Linked DNA regions of Homo sapiens: region 2 is linked to region 1. The links are contacts of gene promoters, found by promoter capture Hi-C in human tissues and cell types (Jung and others, 2019). All regions are on one chromosome and are shown on one strand. Each heading gives the region's core, a stretch centred on a gene start or on the middle of the fragment in contact. The rest is flanking DNA. Distances are from core to core; before and after follow the strand shown.

Region 1 (7,140 bases), core at 2,949-5,448:
GTGGATGGTGTGAAGGTGAAGCTGCAGGTAAGGTGACTGGCAGAGGACAAGTTGGGGGACAGGGGACACCAGGGAAGGGCTGGACAGCCTGACCAGTGCCTGTCGCTGCAGATGTGGGACACAGCTGGTCAGGAGCGGTTCCGCAGTGTTACCCATGCCTACTACCGGGATGCTCATGGTGAGCCCCTGGGTACCTGGGCTGGTTGGGGCGGGGGTCTGAGCACCTGAGGGTGCAGGTGATGGTGGATGTCCTCACTGCCCTCTGTCCCCAGCTCTGCTGCTGCTCTACGATGTCACCAACAAGGCCTCCTTTGACAACATCCAGGTCAGTGGCTTTCCTGGTGGGGTGAAAGGGCCCTGATAGGGCCTGACCCATCCCAACCTCCTTCTGGTAGATGGCATCAGGGTTCCAAAGGACCCCGCTGAGAGAGGGGAGGGGGAAATGACAGCCTTCTGGGCTGGAGGTGGCCCAAGTGGACCTGAGTGCCATTCCAGCTCCCTCAGCAGGAGGCTTTGTGTAAGGGACCTGTAAGGTGGGCTTCTGTATGTGGTACACGGGGGGTTATCACTTCTAAAGACAGGTATCCTGGCCAGGCATGGCGGCTCACCTGAGGTCAGGAGTTCGAGACCAGCCTGGCCAACATGAGGAAACCCCATCTCTACTAAAAATACAAAAATTAGCCGGGCGTTTTGGCACACACCTGTAATCCCAGCTACTCAGGAGACTGAGGTTGCAGTGAGCCAAGACTGTGCTACGGCACTCCAGCCTGGACAACAGAGCAAAACTGTCTCAAAAAAATAAAATGGGCTGGGCATGGTGGCTCACACCTGTAATCCCACCACCTTGGGAGGCTGAGGTGGGCGGATCACGAGGTCAGGAGTTGGAGACCAGCCTGATCAACATGGTGAAACCCCGTCTCTACTAAAGATACAAAAAATTAGCTGGGCGTGGTGGTGCGTAACTGTAATCCCAGTCACTTGGGAGGCTGAACCCTCCCAAGGTTCTCTGAACCCCAGGAGAATAGCTTGAACCCAGGAGATGGAGACTGCAGTGAGTCGAGATGGAGCCATTGCACTCCAGCCTGGGAAACAGGGCGAGACTCTTGTCTCAAAAAAAAAAAAAAAAAAAAAAAGATAAAGACAGGTGCCCTCTACAGTGTGACCTGGAGGGCCAAAGTTCTGGGGCATGGGGCAAGCCATGCAGGGAGCCCCAGCCTGGTCTGCTGCCTCCCACAGGCCTGGCTGACCGAGATCCACGAGTACGCCCAGCACGACGTGGCGCTCATGCTGCTGGGGAACAAGGTGGGAGGCCCGGCTGTCCTCACCTGGGCCACAGGGCAGGGCAGGTGAGGGGGCAGGGGCCAACCATGGGCCAGCTTTCACCAAGACCCTGTGCCTGGGCCAGGTGGACTCTGCCCATGAGCGTGTGGTGAAGAGGGAGGACGGGGAGAAGCTGGCCAAGGTGAGTCAGGGCAGGGGGGTGGTGAGGGGGTGCCCCTGGAGGCTGCGAGCCTAGGCTGTCCCCGCCAGGCCACCACCTGGCTGGCAGCAGCTGTTTACAGGAGTATGGACTGCCCTTCATGGAGACCAGCGCCAAGACGGGCCTCAACGTGGACTTGGCCTTCACAGCCATAGCAAAGTAAGTCCTGCCAGTCACCAGGACTCCCCCAGCCCAGGGCCTGAATCCTCATTAGAGTCCAGGCCATCGTGTCCCCTTGTCACCCCCACTCCGCAGGGAGTTGAAGCAGCGCTCCATGAAGGCTCCCAGCGAGCCGCGCTTCCGGCTGCATGATTACGTTAAGAGGGAGGGTCGAGGGGCCTCCTGCTGCCGCCCTTGAACCTGGCTGAGCTCAGTCCTCTGGAGGAAGCCGTCCAGTCCCTAGAAGGCTGGACAGAGGGTCTCCAGGCCCTTCTGACTTTGTTGCCCAGTGGCCAACGCCCGAGTGTCTGTTTTCAGGAGCCCCAGGTCAAGCCTTGTCCCTTCCTCCTCCCAGCAACAGTCCCAACAAGCAGGCTTCTGAGAGCCCGTGGCCGCACACTGGCCGCCACGGAAAAGCAGTCTTCTGCACGGGACGGGGAGCGGCAAGTGGACAGACTTTGCCACGGTGCTCTGCTGCCCCCTCCTGGGCACGTCCAGGTGAGGGAGGGCTGGGGCTGGCACCACGCACAGTGCCTAACCCTAGAAAAGCCATGTCTTCAGCCGCACATGCTCAGGCAGCTAAGGGAGGACGCCTGCCCACGCCTGGGACAGAAGGCTTCACTGCTAATCACATCGTGCATCTGTGTGTCCTGGGAGCTGCCTGCTCCCGGCCCACCCTCTAGGAGGCTCTGGCTCAAACAGCAATAGGGTCTTCCTCACTGACCTTGGAGGATGCCTGTGGCCTTGTGATAAAATGTGGGAAATCACAGAAAACACCAGAAACAACAACTGCCAGCCCGGCCTGGCCACAGGTGAGGTCTGTGATTTCCGAGCACGCTCCACCTTGCACTCAACTTGGCCTTTTGATTGCACAAGCCTTTGTTTTCAGTCCTAGTGAATAAAGTTGTGTTTTCTGGAGCGTCTGTCTCATCTGTTGAAAAAAATCCACTTCTAGAGCAGGATGCTGGAGTTTGAGAGACTCAGCAAGGCCCAGAACCCTCAGCAGGTGTGTGGCTACCATTCCTCCATGGCCCATGGCTGCCTCCCTAAGGAGGCACATGGGAACCCTAGGTGGTGTCAACTTCCCTCCACAAATCTCAAAAGCCTTTTTGGACTCACCCTGGGGCAAAAGGCATGAAAAACAGTATTTGACTGGGCGTGGTGGCTCACACCTGTGATCCCAGCACTTTGGGAGGCTGAGGTGGGCAGATCACCTGAGGTCAGGAGTTTGAGACCAGCCTAACACGGAGAAACCCCGTCTCTACTAAAAATACAAAATTAGCCGGGCGTGGTGGTGGGCGCCTGTAATTCCAGCCATTTGGGAGGCTCAGGCAGGAAAATCGCTTGAGGTGGAGGTTGTGCCATCGCACTCCCGCCTGGGAAACGAGCAAAACTCCGTCTCAAAAAAAAAAAAAAAAAATCACGGGCAGAAATGGAGAAGGCAATCCCAAGAGATGAAAAGTCACTGGTAACGAGCTTCCGTTTTCATGTCTGTACCCTTTTCCAAGATTGCCTGTGGATCAGCCAGACCTCTGGGGTGCCAGAATAGGAAAATAAAGACACTTGAGAGAAAACCGAATCAACTCACTACCTTTCTTTATTGCTAAGCACTTCAATAGACACAGCGCCCACCTTACCGCTAGGCCCTCCGGATTGAGGTTTACTTAGGTTCAAAACTTGCAGCCGGCTCGCGACGAAACCTGAAAGTCAGCGCCAAAATACAGACATTAAGTCCCCACTCCTTCGTTTCGGGCAACACCTGTTTCCACTCTCAGCTCCCCGTCAGGAGTGCGCACCCTCAAGCCTCAGTCTTGCTAAATAATCAGACTGCACGTGCAGTTTTCATACGAGGTGTCAGAAGTCAAAGCAATTCATCACAGACTGGGAGAATAAGGGAACCCAAGCCCGGCCCAGTCTTACCTGCAGGTAGCTGAGGGCCTGAGATTCGGGAAGAAACCTTTAAACGCTAAGGGACAAAGTGGTGCGTAGGCCAGGCCTGGACGCCCAGGGACCTGGCCGGCCTGCAGCGTTCGGACGGCCCTCAAAGCCACGCTCGTGGCTCAGTTCGTCCCAAGATCGTAGCACATGGCGAACGTATTAACAAACCTCTTCCCCCTCGGACTCGACCCCGAAAAGACAGGGGCGGGCGAGGCTCAAGCTTTTATAGAAACTGTCCCACCTCTGTCATTGGGCTATCCTGGCGGAAGTGCCCGCCTTCCCCCGCCGCTGGTACGCTCCGCTCCCTGCCGCGTTGTTTCCACCAATCGTACCGTGGCATTTCTTTTGGAGACGGTCTCTCAGACCCAGACCCGAAGCTCCTCCCTTATGCAGAGTCCGTGAAGCCTAACGGTGAGTGACGGATGAACAAAGCCAATCAGACTTCGATCTGCAACATAGAGTGATTCTGAAGCTGCCATTCCCGCCCCGCGACGACGAGGCCGCCGGAAGTCGTAGTTTCGGAAGTGCGGCGCGTGAGGCAGCCGTCCGGGCCCGGAGAGGCGGGGAACTACACGTCCCGGCGGGCGCAGCGGCCTGGCGCTTCCGGCTCGCGCGTCTAGTCCCTTTCCCGGCCGGCGGCCGAGGGGGCATCATGAAGCGGGCTGGCGGCGCTGCCGCTCCCGGGCGGCCGCGGGCGGGTGAGTGTCCCCGCGGCGCGCCCGACCCGGGGCTCGCGCCTCGGGACCGCGCGGTGGGGCGGGATCGGGCGCGTGGAGATCGAGGCGAGGCGAGGCGAGGCGAGGGGTCGGGCCGGGGCGGGGAGGGGGGGGCGGGGCTGAGACGGTCGGGGTCGGGGTCAGGGTCGGGGTCCGCGTCGCTGTCCGTCCGCCAGTCAGTAGTCCGTCCCTCGCTCCGTCCTGTTCTCGCGCAGTTCTTTACTCATTCCTTCTTCCTGCATTCCCCGAGACTCCCGGGTGCCAGGCACTGTTCTGGGCGCCGGGAGACCGCGGAGAACACGGTCCCAGTTCTCCTGTGCTCGGCGTCTGCTGCAGGGTTCCCCAACCTCCGCACCATCGACCACGCGGCCCGGGTCGCTTTTTGCTGCGAGGAGCTGCCCTGTACATTGTAGGATGTGGAACAGCTTGCCTGGCTCCTGGCCGCTAGATACCAGTAAACACCACCCCTTCCTCAATTGCGATAACAAATGTCTCCATGCATTGGCAAATGCCTCCTGCGGAACAACTCCCCCCATCCCCCATCTAGACAGACAGGGTGGTGGGATTGACAATAGGTAGTTAAAATCATGGGGAGCAGCGGTATGTGCTGTGAAAGAAAGAAAGAGGGTGCTGAAAAAGTGAGTACTGGCCGGGGGTAGGGGCGGCGCTACCGTTAGCCAAAGGCCTGTTGGAGAAGCAGCCAGTCCCAGGACATGCAGGAGGAGCATTCCAAGTAGAAAGAGCCAGATGTACATAGGCCTGGGGTGAGAAGGGGCCTGACGCACCCCAGCAAGCACTGGCAAGTGGAGAGGTGAAGTCGATGAGGCCGGACCAGGCTCACAGGGTGCATGGTGGGGTGGGGCGGGGGGGTTATTATGCTGGCAAATGACTTGGGGTTGAGGAAGCGCTGGAGAGGCGGTCCGATCTAGGTCCAGTAAAGAGCTTTCTAACTGTGTGTGGACCACAGACTTCAGAGTTCACTGGGGAAGCAGGAGAGAGGGAGGCTAGGCCATCGTCTCCTAGTCCCCACTGGGGTCCTGCTGTCAAGATACGGTTGTCTTGAGCCAGGCCAGAGTGGTCAGCTGGGGTTGAGTCTGGAGTCCAGGGGCAGGGGCCTGCTGGAGCCCACCCTGCTCTTGGGGGTGAGGGGCTGCTGGCTTGCTCAGGAATTTCATGCCGCCCAGCCTGTCTGCCCACCTTTCTCACTACCCCTCAGACCCCTTCCTGGGCACACACAGGCCCCCTAGCCCTCGCCAAGTGAGGAGCCTCCCTCTTCCTCATTCCTTCTCTTTGGGCCTCTCCCTTCCTAGACCCCTTCCCTGTGCCTCTCTGTTGCGAATATCCTGACTTCACTGTTCTGGGCATTCATAGTTCTCTGTGGAAGCCTCGGGCCCCGTGTCCTGAGGGGGAGCAGTGGTATGGGCAGCCTGGCCTAAGGAGGGGAGGGGCTGGGAGTCAGCACCCCAACCTGACGCCCCAACCTGAGGGTCTCTGGTGAAGTGACTTCCACCGTGGCCCACTGGGGCCAAGTGTTACGATATTTCTGGAAGTGAATGGAAAAGTTCAGGGTCTTTGGCACCCACCGAAAAGTGCCTTTGGCAGATTGAGTGGCGATTGGTGGGGCTCCTGCCCCTCTGTCTGCCTGTGTCCCCCACAAGGCTCCTAGCTCCTCCCGGGTCAGATTCGTGTTCAGCCGTCACACATCCCCACCCTCCCGCATGGGGCCTGGCACCCCGTGGTTGGTGTGACTCTCGGCCAGCTGGTTGGACAAGGAATGAGCAGTTTGGGGAAAGGAGGAAGATGCAGTTGAAGAGCCTCCTGGCCAGGAGGCCTGGGCAGCCTGGCTCTGGGATGCAGCCACTCCCCGGCTTGGCATGGGACTGGCTCAGGCGCTGCCGGGGCTCCTGGATGTGTGGCAGCCGTGGACGAAGCAGAAGGAATGTGACTCTGGTCACAGCGGCACAGCCTGCTGGCTGTGTCCCTGGGCCGGCCTCTCCGCCTTCCTCAGCCTCCATGGTCCACTCAGCAGAGGAGCTGCTGTCTGGGGTGCCTTCACTCTTGACGGATCCATCTTCTCTCGGCTCCTTCCAGACAGGGTTCTGGCTCTATTCCGTTTTTCGAGAAGCCCGAGGCCAGGAGGGCAGGTACACAGCTGTGAAGTGGTAGAAGTGGACTTTGAACCCAGCTCTGTCTGAGCCCAGTGCCTGTGGCCTTGACCACGGTGTCACAGCATCTCCTGGATGGACACCCTGCGGGGTCAGGGAGGGCATGTGGGGAGGGCCGAGAGCTGTTGGCTGCGTGTGTCTCAGTCCGGCCTTCTCAGTGGGTGGGCACCGAGGACTTCACCAGGCCCTCTGTGTGGATCATGCGGGGGGAACCTGTGGAGAGGGACCCACCAACCCCTTAGTCTTTGACAGATCCGCTGCTGTCCCCAGCCTTGCTCCCTGGAGGAGGAGGGTGCAGCCAGGTGGGGCAGGTGAAAGGGGAAAGCGGGCACTGGAGGCTGGGGCTGGTCACGTGTAGACCCGGACACCCTCACCCGGCTGGAGGAAGCCGGCTGCCTGGAAACTCGGGGTGGAGGTGACCCAACCCCAGAAGCACCCAGGTGGGAAGTAGGGGGCAGCGACGCAGAGGGCCAGGACTGAGGGCCGTGGGACGGTGTGGGAAAGGAGGTGGCAGTGCGGTGGCACGCTGGCATGAGGGCGCTGGGTGACTGAGGGGGTCAGTGGTCTCTGCCCTCACATTCCTGTTGCCTCTTCGGGCCCATGTATGGCCAGTGTTTATGTCAGCTCCCTGCTGCTGCAGGGCAGAAGGAAGGAGGGAGCCCGGGAGACCGAGCCACACAGG
Region 2 (7,140 bases), core at 2,214-4,713, 1.2 Mb before region 1:
GAGCTGCAGCGGCCGGGAGATCGGCCAGGTGTGGTCCTTTCACCCTGCAGCTCAGTGTCCTGTGACCACAGGCACGTGGGCCCTGCCCTGAGCGCCTCACACCAACCCGAGGCGGGAGGAGGAGGAGGGCGTCCTGAGAGTGCCCTGTCAAGCAAAAACTCTAAGAGAAAAAGCCAGGCTGACCCAGGAGAGGCCTGAGGGAGGGGAGTGGAGATGAGGCTCGGCCACCCCAGGGCTGCCCGGTGCTGGGGGAGAAGACGCTGAGAAGAGGAGGAGAATGGGGAGGAAGGGACGGACACCCCAAGAGCACGCAGGCTGAAGACTGGGCTGCCTCCCCGGAGACCGACCAGCCTGCCCTAGGTGGGACCCTGTCCCCGCCGTCCCGGCCTGCGCCAGCACAGCCCCCAGGACCCAGGCACACACAAGCCCGTGGCTGGCCACGCTCCCAGCAGCTGCGGGCCGGCTTCAGGGAGGAATGAGCCCCTGTCGGCACCTCGTCCAGCTGTCCCCCAGCACCCCGGCCTGGCAGCTCCCGCCTCCTCGGGGCCATTGTCCCTGGCATGCGGTGGCAGCTGTCTCTGGCACCCGCAGGAAGCCAGTGTGGGCCCGAAGATAATCGTGCACCCTTCATTTACCCCAATTTTTCATGTCCTGAAGTCTGGGTATGGAAGGGGGGCCCAGGACCCGTGGATGCTAACATCTGTTGCCTCCTCCTGGAAGGGTGGTCAGTTTGGGCAGATCCTGCTGTGACTGTCCAGCGGCCAACCCCCCCACCCCCCACGTGAGGCTGGCAGGTGCGGGTGGGGGCTGAGAGAGCAGGTGTTGTGCCATTTGCTGGTTGTCCTGGGACGATGACTCACAGACGGCTGTTCTGCTTGGCTCACCCTGTCCTCTCCCTGCACCCTCGGCTACAGGTCACGAGTGTTCCCACCCCTGCACCCCAGAAGGAGATGCGGCTCCATGTGACCCTGCAAGCTGGCAAGCCATGGTTTCTAGACAGTGGAAAGCACAGCTCCCAATGTGGTGGTGTTCTCCGGTTGCAGGGCCCTATGTTAGGAAACGAATGTGTAATTTTTTTTTTTTCTCTAGGAATCATATTCTGCACTGGAAGAAGCCTTGAGAGTTGCCTGGCCCAGAGGTCACAAACCAGAGCCCTGCGGGCTGAGCTCTACCCACAGTGCAGTTATCAGTCACCGTGTAGCGGTCACCGACGGCCACATTAATGCTGCGTAACAAACAGCCTCAGAGCCCACCGTTGTGTGTCGCCAGGCGGTGCTGTCCATGCCCAGGCCCCAAGAAAGGCAGGGGAAAGGCTGAGCTGGGCCTGTGCCCTCTGTCCCTTCCTATGAGCCTCTAGAGCAAAGCTTTGCTGAAGGCTGTTGTCTGAACCAAGGCCACAGAGGAAGCACGCTCCCTGCTCCCACTTTGCCCCTCGTACCCGCCTGAGGGCATCTTAATTAAGCCTTCCTTCCCCACGCTCAGAAAAATAAATACTTGGGAGACAGCAGAGACATTTTCACAGGGTGTGTTTTCATTTGCCTTTGGCACTAATGGGTCTCTGGAACGTTCCATCCTGGCCGGGGAGGTCAGGGCCTGGGCGGCCAGGGCCCATTTCGAGAAAGCAGGTTTTCCTTTGTGGCATGCTTATTTCAAGCACCATTTTCCCTCCTGGTTATACTTGAAATGGGGCTCGGTGTTGGGAGGTTTCAAATGTGGACATTCCGGGCAAGGGGCCTCATGAACTCTGTGGACATTCTGGGCAAGGGGCCTCATGAACTCTGAAGGTTGAGCTTGGAAGGACGGACACAGGTCTTGGCAGCCTGAGTGGGTACAAACGCTGATTTTTCTGGAGTCAGTCCTCTCCTGCTGATGGGCTGAGAGAGCCCCCCAGGCCCTGTGTCCCTTCTCAGAGGACCTCAGCCCCCCAGTGCCTGGGCCACGGATGGGCTGGGGGCTGGGGCCCAGGGCCTCGCATCCTACAAGGGCCCAAGGGCTGAAATGGGGCTGGGGTCCCTGGATCTAGGGGATGAGGGCCCAGAACGAGGCTGGGGTCTGGGGTTCAGTGGAGCAATGACCAGGAATCAGGCTGCGATCTGTAGTCCAGGTGTCTGGCGTCAGACAGCACCCTCCTGTACACGGCACAGCTGTACTGCAGGGTTAGGGACAGGATTTACTGCCACCAACGGAAGCGTTGATTCCAAGTCTCAGACACCGCCCCCAGGCTGGGCCTCCCTCGACGGAAGGTGACGCTCTCTGGGAGGTCCTTGGTGCTCACCTCCCTGGCTGCTTGGGGCCCCAGGGCTCCTGCCTAGGGATGTTTTGGGGCTGCAGAAGGACCCTCTGCCCATTATCAGACGAGAAGTGCAGAGAGCAAATGCGTGCTGTTGGCGCCCCCCACCCCCACACTGAGAGTGGAGACGGATAGGCCCAGCCAGAAGCTTGGGGACCCGCTCCCAGCCTGGAGTGACGGACGCTGAGCAGCAGGAGCACAGCTGTTCCCGACACATCCGTGATCTGGGCGTGCACCTGTCACTGGGGAGAGAGCAGTGCTGGTCTCCACGCTTTGGGCATCGCCTGCTCCCTGAATCCTTTCCACATGCGAACAGCCTGGGCAGGGGTCCCCAGCGGTCAGTAGCTACTCCCGCCAGCGCGGGTTCACGGATCAGGAGGCTCCCAGTGTGTCAGGGGAGTGCGAGGTGAAGATGGGGAGGGCTGGGCTGGAAATGCTCGTCCTCCGTGGAGGTCGGGGGCATCAGGAGGACCAGGAGGACGTCTGGGCTGCAGGCAGACGTAAGCTGCAGCAGGGCCAGCTCTGGCTACAGAGGCCCAGAAAGCACTGCTCCTGCAAGGTGCCAAGAAAGACTCACTGAGTGGTTTTCCACTGCCCTGTGAGCGCCAGGAAGCTTAAGGCACAGACAAGGCCAGTTCTCAGGCAGACGCCACCCCAGCCAACAGGCCAGCCTTGACCCAAACCGGAACTCGTGCCCCAGCTGGCACTGCCAGCACCCGAGACAGTGAAGTACAGGGAGCTGCAACCCAGCCCAGAGCTCCAAGTGTGCGTGGCCAAGAAGCTGACTCCCGAAGGGGGTCTTGAGAGGGGTCCTGCGAACCCCTCCTCTCCCCTGGAGACCCGTCCGGGGGCGGGGCCTTTCCCAGCCTCTGCTCACAGCCTGCGCCGGCCCAGCCTGTAGTCACTCTGTCTCTGCCAGACCAGCCGTCATTAAAAGCACCAATTAATCTCCCAGGCCGTGCCAGGACGCTGCCAACTGCCCCACGGGTGCTCGGGATGCAGGGGCTGGGAGGCCCGGGCCAAGGCTGTGCACACACCGGCTGCCAGCGGGTTCACGCCCGCCGGGCCCTCCCTGTGCTTCTCAGAGGCCGCACAAAAGATGGGCTGCCTGCCGCAGGAGGAGGGCCGGGTTGGGGGTGGATGGAGGGGGACGGGGAGGACGGGCAGGGAGGGACGGAGGGGCACAGGGAAGGACGGAGAGGGAGGGACAGGGGCCTCTCCAGGGTGGCATTTCCCTGGGCAGCCCTGCTTCCTCCTCGTGCCCTGGGCCCAACACACACCACACACACACACACACCATACACATGCACACCACACATCACAAACACACCCACACCCTGCACACATACACCACACACTAAACACACACACCACACACATACCACACACATACATCATACACACGCACACACACCACACACCATACACACACCCCACCACACACATACACGCACACACACACACCACACACACACATCATACACACGCACACCACACATCACACACACACAAACACACCCACACCCTGCACACATACACCACACCAAACACACACGGACACACACACACCACACACCATACACACACCACACCACACACATACATCATACACACACACACACACCACACACCATACACGCACCCCACACACATACATCACACACATCATACACATACACACCACACACCATACACACCATACGCACTATACACGCACCATACACACTATACACGCACCACACACACCATAAACACACCCCATACATACATCCCATACACATATCACACATTACATACCATACAAACACACACCACACACACACATGAACACACGCGCCTCCGGGGTCGCCATCCCTAGGAGCCACGGGTAGGGTGGGGTGGTCTCTCATCTGGAAGCATCCCCCAGGCCATCCCTGCACCATCTCATGGGCAGCAGAGCCTGTCCACCCACATTCTTCTCTGCGGCTGTCCTTGGCGCCCAGGCCAGGGCATGTGGAGCTACAAATGTCATCTACACCAGCTCTCCACGCCCGGCACTCACGGCCCAGGGGACAGCCCTGGTCCAGATTCCCCCATCAGGGTATACTTGAAACGTACACTCCCCCTGAAACTGCAAGGCCCACTAGCAGGTGGTGAGGTCAGGGTGGGTGGGGCCATGCAGACACGGCGGAGCAGGCCCCAGCTGAAGGGGTGGGGCAGGGATGGGAGACAGGGGAGGAGGGTGTGTGTGCAGCTCCCCCCTGGATGAAGACATGGGCCCATCAGGTGGACTCAGAGGTGGCTCTGATGGCTGCCCCTCCACTCTCCACCCCCGGGTCCATCTCTTGTCATCAGACACTCTGCTCTAGCTTCCCCAGGGAACACGCTGGCCTCTCCCTGCAGGAGATCAGAAGCTTCAGGGCTCAGCTTAAATGACACCAAAGATGCTTTCCCAGACCATCCTTCCTGAAGTCCCCGCCTCTGAGAGGTGCTTTTGGAGTTACCTGCTGCCTGCCTCCCTCCACAAGGCCAGCGTCTGCAGGGCAGGAGCTGTGAGGGTGGCCCGGCTCCATCCTGTGTGGGAAAGTGCCTGGCACACAGCAAGTGCTTAATTAATACCTGGTGACCCTCAAGCCATCCCGACACCTCCCTCTCTGAAAGCTCCGTCCCGGCGTCCTCTCAGGCCTAGTGGCTCACACCCGCGGAGGACGAGGTCATTTTCCTGGGGACTTCAAGGTGGACCAGAGATGACTCTGGAAGGGGGGTTTGTGGGCACCACTCTGCATGGGGATCCTCACCCACATACCGCCCTCCCGGGAGTGCACCAACACGTCCTCAGCTGACTGGCCTAGGCCCCCACCACCCCGCCACAGAGACTCCCCACCTCCCCACCCCTCCTGTGGCAGCCTGCACGCCCAGCACCTCCCCTGGTGATCACTGCAACCTGGGGAAAGGAGCAGGCGCTGTTGGAGCCTGAGGCAGGGTCTCAGTTGCACAGACCACCGTGCCCCAGAGTCAGGGCCTGGATGCCACTCCCCAACCTCAGTCTCCCTTCCTCCAGGGGTGCTGGAGTTCCCCACCTGTGTCCCAGGGACTTGAAGCTTCCTTGGTGGATGGGGAGCCAGGAAGAGGCCACCCTGCCTGCTCGCAGACCTAATGCAACTGCTTTTCTTTGGCAAAGAGAGCTCTCCACGGAGGTCCTCACCCGGATGGCACTGTGAGCCCGAGTGGGCGATGTCTGCTCTCCCAGGGGCAGGGGGTGGAAGGTGGCACAGTTTGGACCGGACCCCCACCCTCACTGCTTCCACTTAAACCCCCACTTCTGCCTGCCTGCATCCCAGGCCTAACAGATGAGTTCCGCGGGCGCCCCAGGCGATGCTCTGAGGGCCACGGAAGGATGCGGGGACCCCGAGCGGAGGGCAGGGCCTCCAGGGGGAAGAGGCACTGCAGACGGAGGTGTGGGTCTTCCCAGGCAGGTGCCGGAGCCAAGCGAGATGGTGGGACGGGGAAGAGAGGGCAGGCCAGGCTGGCAGCCAGCTCTCCACCTACGATGCGTGGAGCCTCCCAACTCGCGCACTCCGTCTCCCCACCGCTGCTTCCTCTGACCTGGCTGCAGAGATGAGACCGCCCTCCGGGCAGGTGACACGGCCCTTGCTCTTCAGCCTGGAGGCCAATGCTTCCTCCAAAGGCCCTGGCCCCCTCAGCTCCGGGCCTGGCTCCGGTTGTTCCCAATGCAAAGCAGCAAGGGCCCCGGGGTCTGCGGACGGGGGCGGGCGGCCGCTGGGGGCACCAGCTCTCGGCCGGGCCAGAACAGGGGGTAGGAGGCGCGTCCTGTGCGGTCGGTGGCGGCCCCAGGTGGGTGCGGTGCGCTGGCAGGAAGCGGCAGCACGACCCCCGACTTTGCATCTGGACTTTTCTAGTAACGGACCAGCTCCTTCTGCCGACCGGGCCGGGGAGACCGCGTGGCTCAGTGGCTGCAGCGGCCACCGGCCCGGGCGTGGGGGCTTTGAGGGCACCGGCGCGGTAGGTCACCCGGGTTTCGCGGGCCGCAAGCTCGGAGACGCGCGTGTCCCGCGTTGGCTGCCTGACCCGGAATGGCGCAGCCCCTTCGCCTCCAGCGCGCTGGTTGAAAGGATCCGAGCCACCCTCGGGGACGGCCGGGCCGAGGCCACCTCGCGGGGCGGCCTTGGGCGGGGACCCGGACCCGCGGTTGGACGTTCGCCTCGGGGGGGGCAATGTCCCCTCTCCGACCCCGCGGTCCCCACCAGGGCGGCACACCCCGCCCTCTCCCCGCCTCCGCAGGCGCCCAGGGCTCACAGGCTCGGAGCGGCCTCCGCCTCTGCCGGACCACCCAGGGCCGCCCCGCCGGAGGGGCCTCCCCGCCCCCGAGCCCTAGGTCACGCCCGGAAGGCCCGGGGCCCCCGCGTCCGGCCACGCCATCCGCCCGGCGGCCCCAGGGACTCAGCGCCGGGGTCAGCGCAGGCCCCGCCCAGCGCTCCCGCCCCCTCCAGCTGGCCGGCCCCCGGGACCGCGCCCCCGCCCGCGCTCTCCACGCTCGCACTCGTATGGGCAGGGCGGCCCGGGGTCCCCCAGCTCCGAGCCGCGGCCCCTTGAAGCGCGTTACCTGGACGTGCGCTGTCCGCAGACTCTGGACGAGCTGGGCCTGGGCGCTGCGCGGCGGAACCGACCCTGTCCTGGACCGCAGGCAGCAGCTGACCCCGCGCCACCGGCCTGCGGGCGAGACCTCAGGCGCGAGACGGGCTGTGTGTGTGTGTGTGTGTGTGAGAGAGAGAGAGAGAGAGAGAGAGAGAGAGAGAGAGAGAGAGAGTGTGTGTGTGTGTGTGTGTGTGTGTGTGTGTGTGTGTGTGTGT

Evidence for each region. The method cuts DNA at HindIII sites, captures the fragments that hold promoters and counts their contacts. A contact is called where the count stands out against the background at its distance.
Region 2: a fragment that was not itself captured here is called in contact with the fragment with the promoter of TRAF7 in region 1 in 1 of the 25 tissues and cell types used here (spleen).

What each region holds. Positions count from the first base shown.
Region 1 is chr16:2,151,584-2,158,723 of GRCh38, forward strand. It overlaps TRAF7 (TNF receptor associated factor 7), which reads left to right and starts at 4,199. Exons shown (of 21, transcript NM_032271.3): 1 at 4,199-4,275. SNHG19 (small nucleolar RNA host gene 19) reads right to left here and starts at 3,775. Exons shown (of 2, transcript NR_132114.1): 1 at 3,560-3,775; 2 at 3,199-3,339. It overlaps SNORD60 (small nucleolar RNA, C/D box 60), which reads right to left and starts at 3,522; the gene lies at 3,440-3,522. RAB26 (RAB26, member RAS oncogene family) reads left to right here. Exons shown (of 9, transcript NM_014353.5): 3 at 1-27; 4 at 112-178; 5 at 273-325; 6 at 1,237-1,302; 7 at 1,406-1,462; 8 at 1,563-1,639; 9 at 1,736-2,582. The coding sequence ends at 1,838. RefSeq lists enhancers at 3,564-3,763, 4,634-4,733, 4,744-4,883, 4,807-5,388, 5,389-5,972 and 1 more and a silencer at 4,244-4,333. The HindIII fragment of the contact is 10,583 bases long and covers 1-6,892 here.
Region 2 is chr16:974,252-981,391 of GRCh38, forward strand. It overlaps CEROX1 (cytoplasmic endogenous regulator of oxidative phosphorylation 1), which reads right to left. Exons shown (of 3, transcript NR_164343.1): 1 at 5,350-7,140; 2 at 4,774-4,859; 3 at 1,510-2,842. LOC124903620 (a long non-coding RNA gene) reads left to right here. Exons shown (of 2, transcript XR_007064935.1): 1 at 1-360; 2 at 1,090-1,507. It also overlaps a transcript of LMF1 not described here. Among named protein-coding and RNA genes, the nearest start is that of CEROX1, 3.8 kb to the right of the region's middle. The HindIII fragment of the contact is 3,125 bases long and covers 1,902-5,026 here.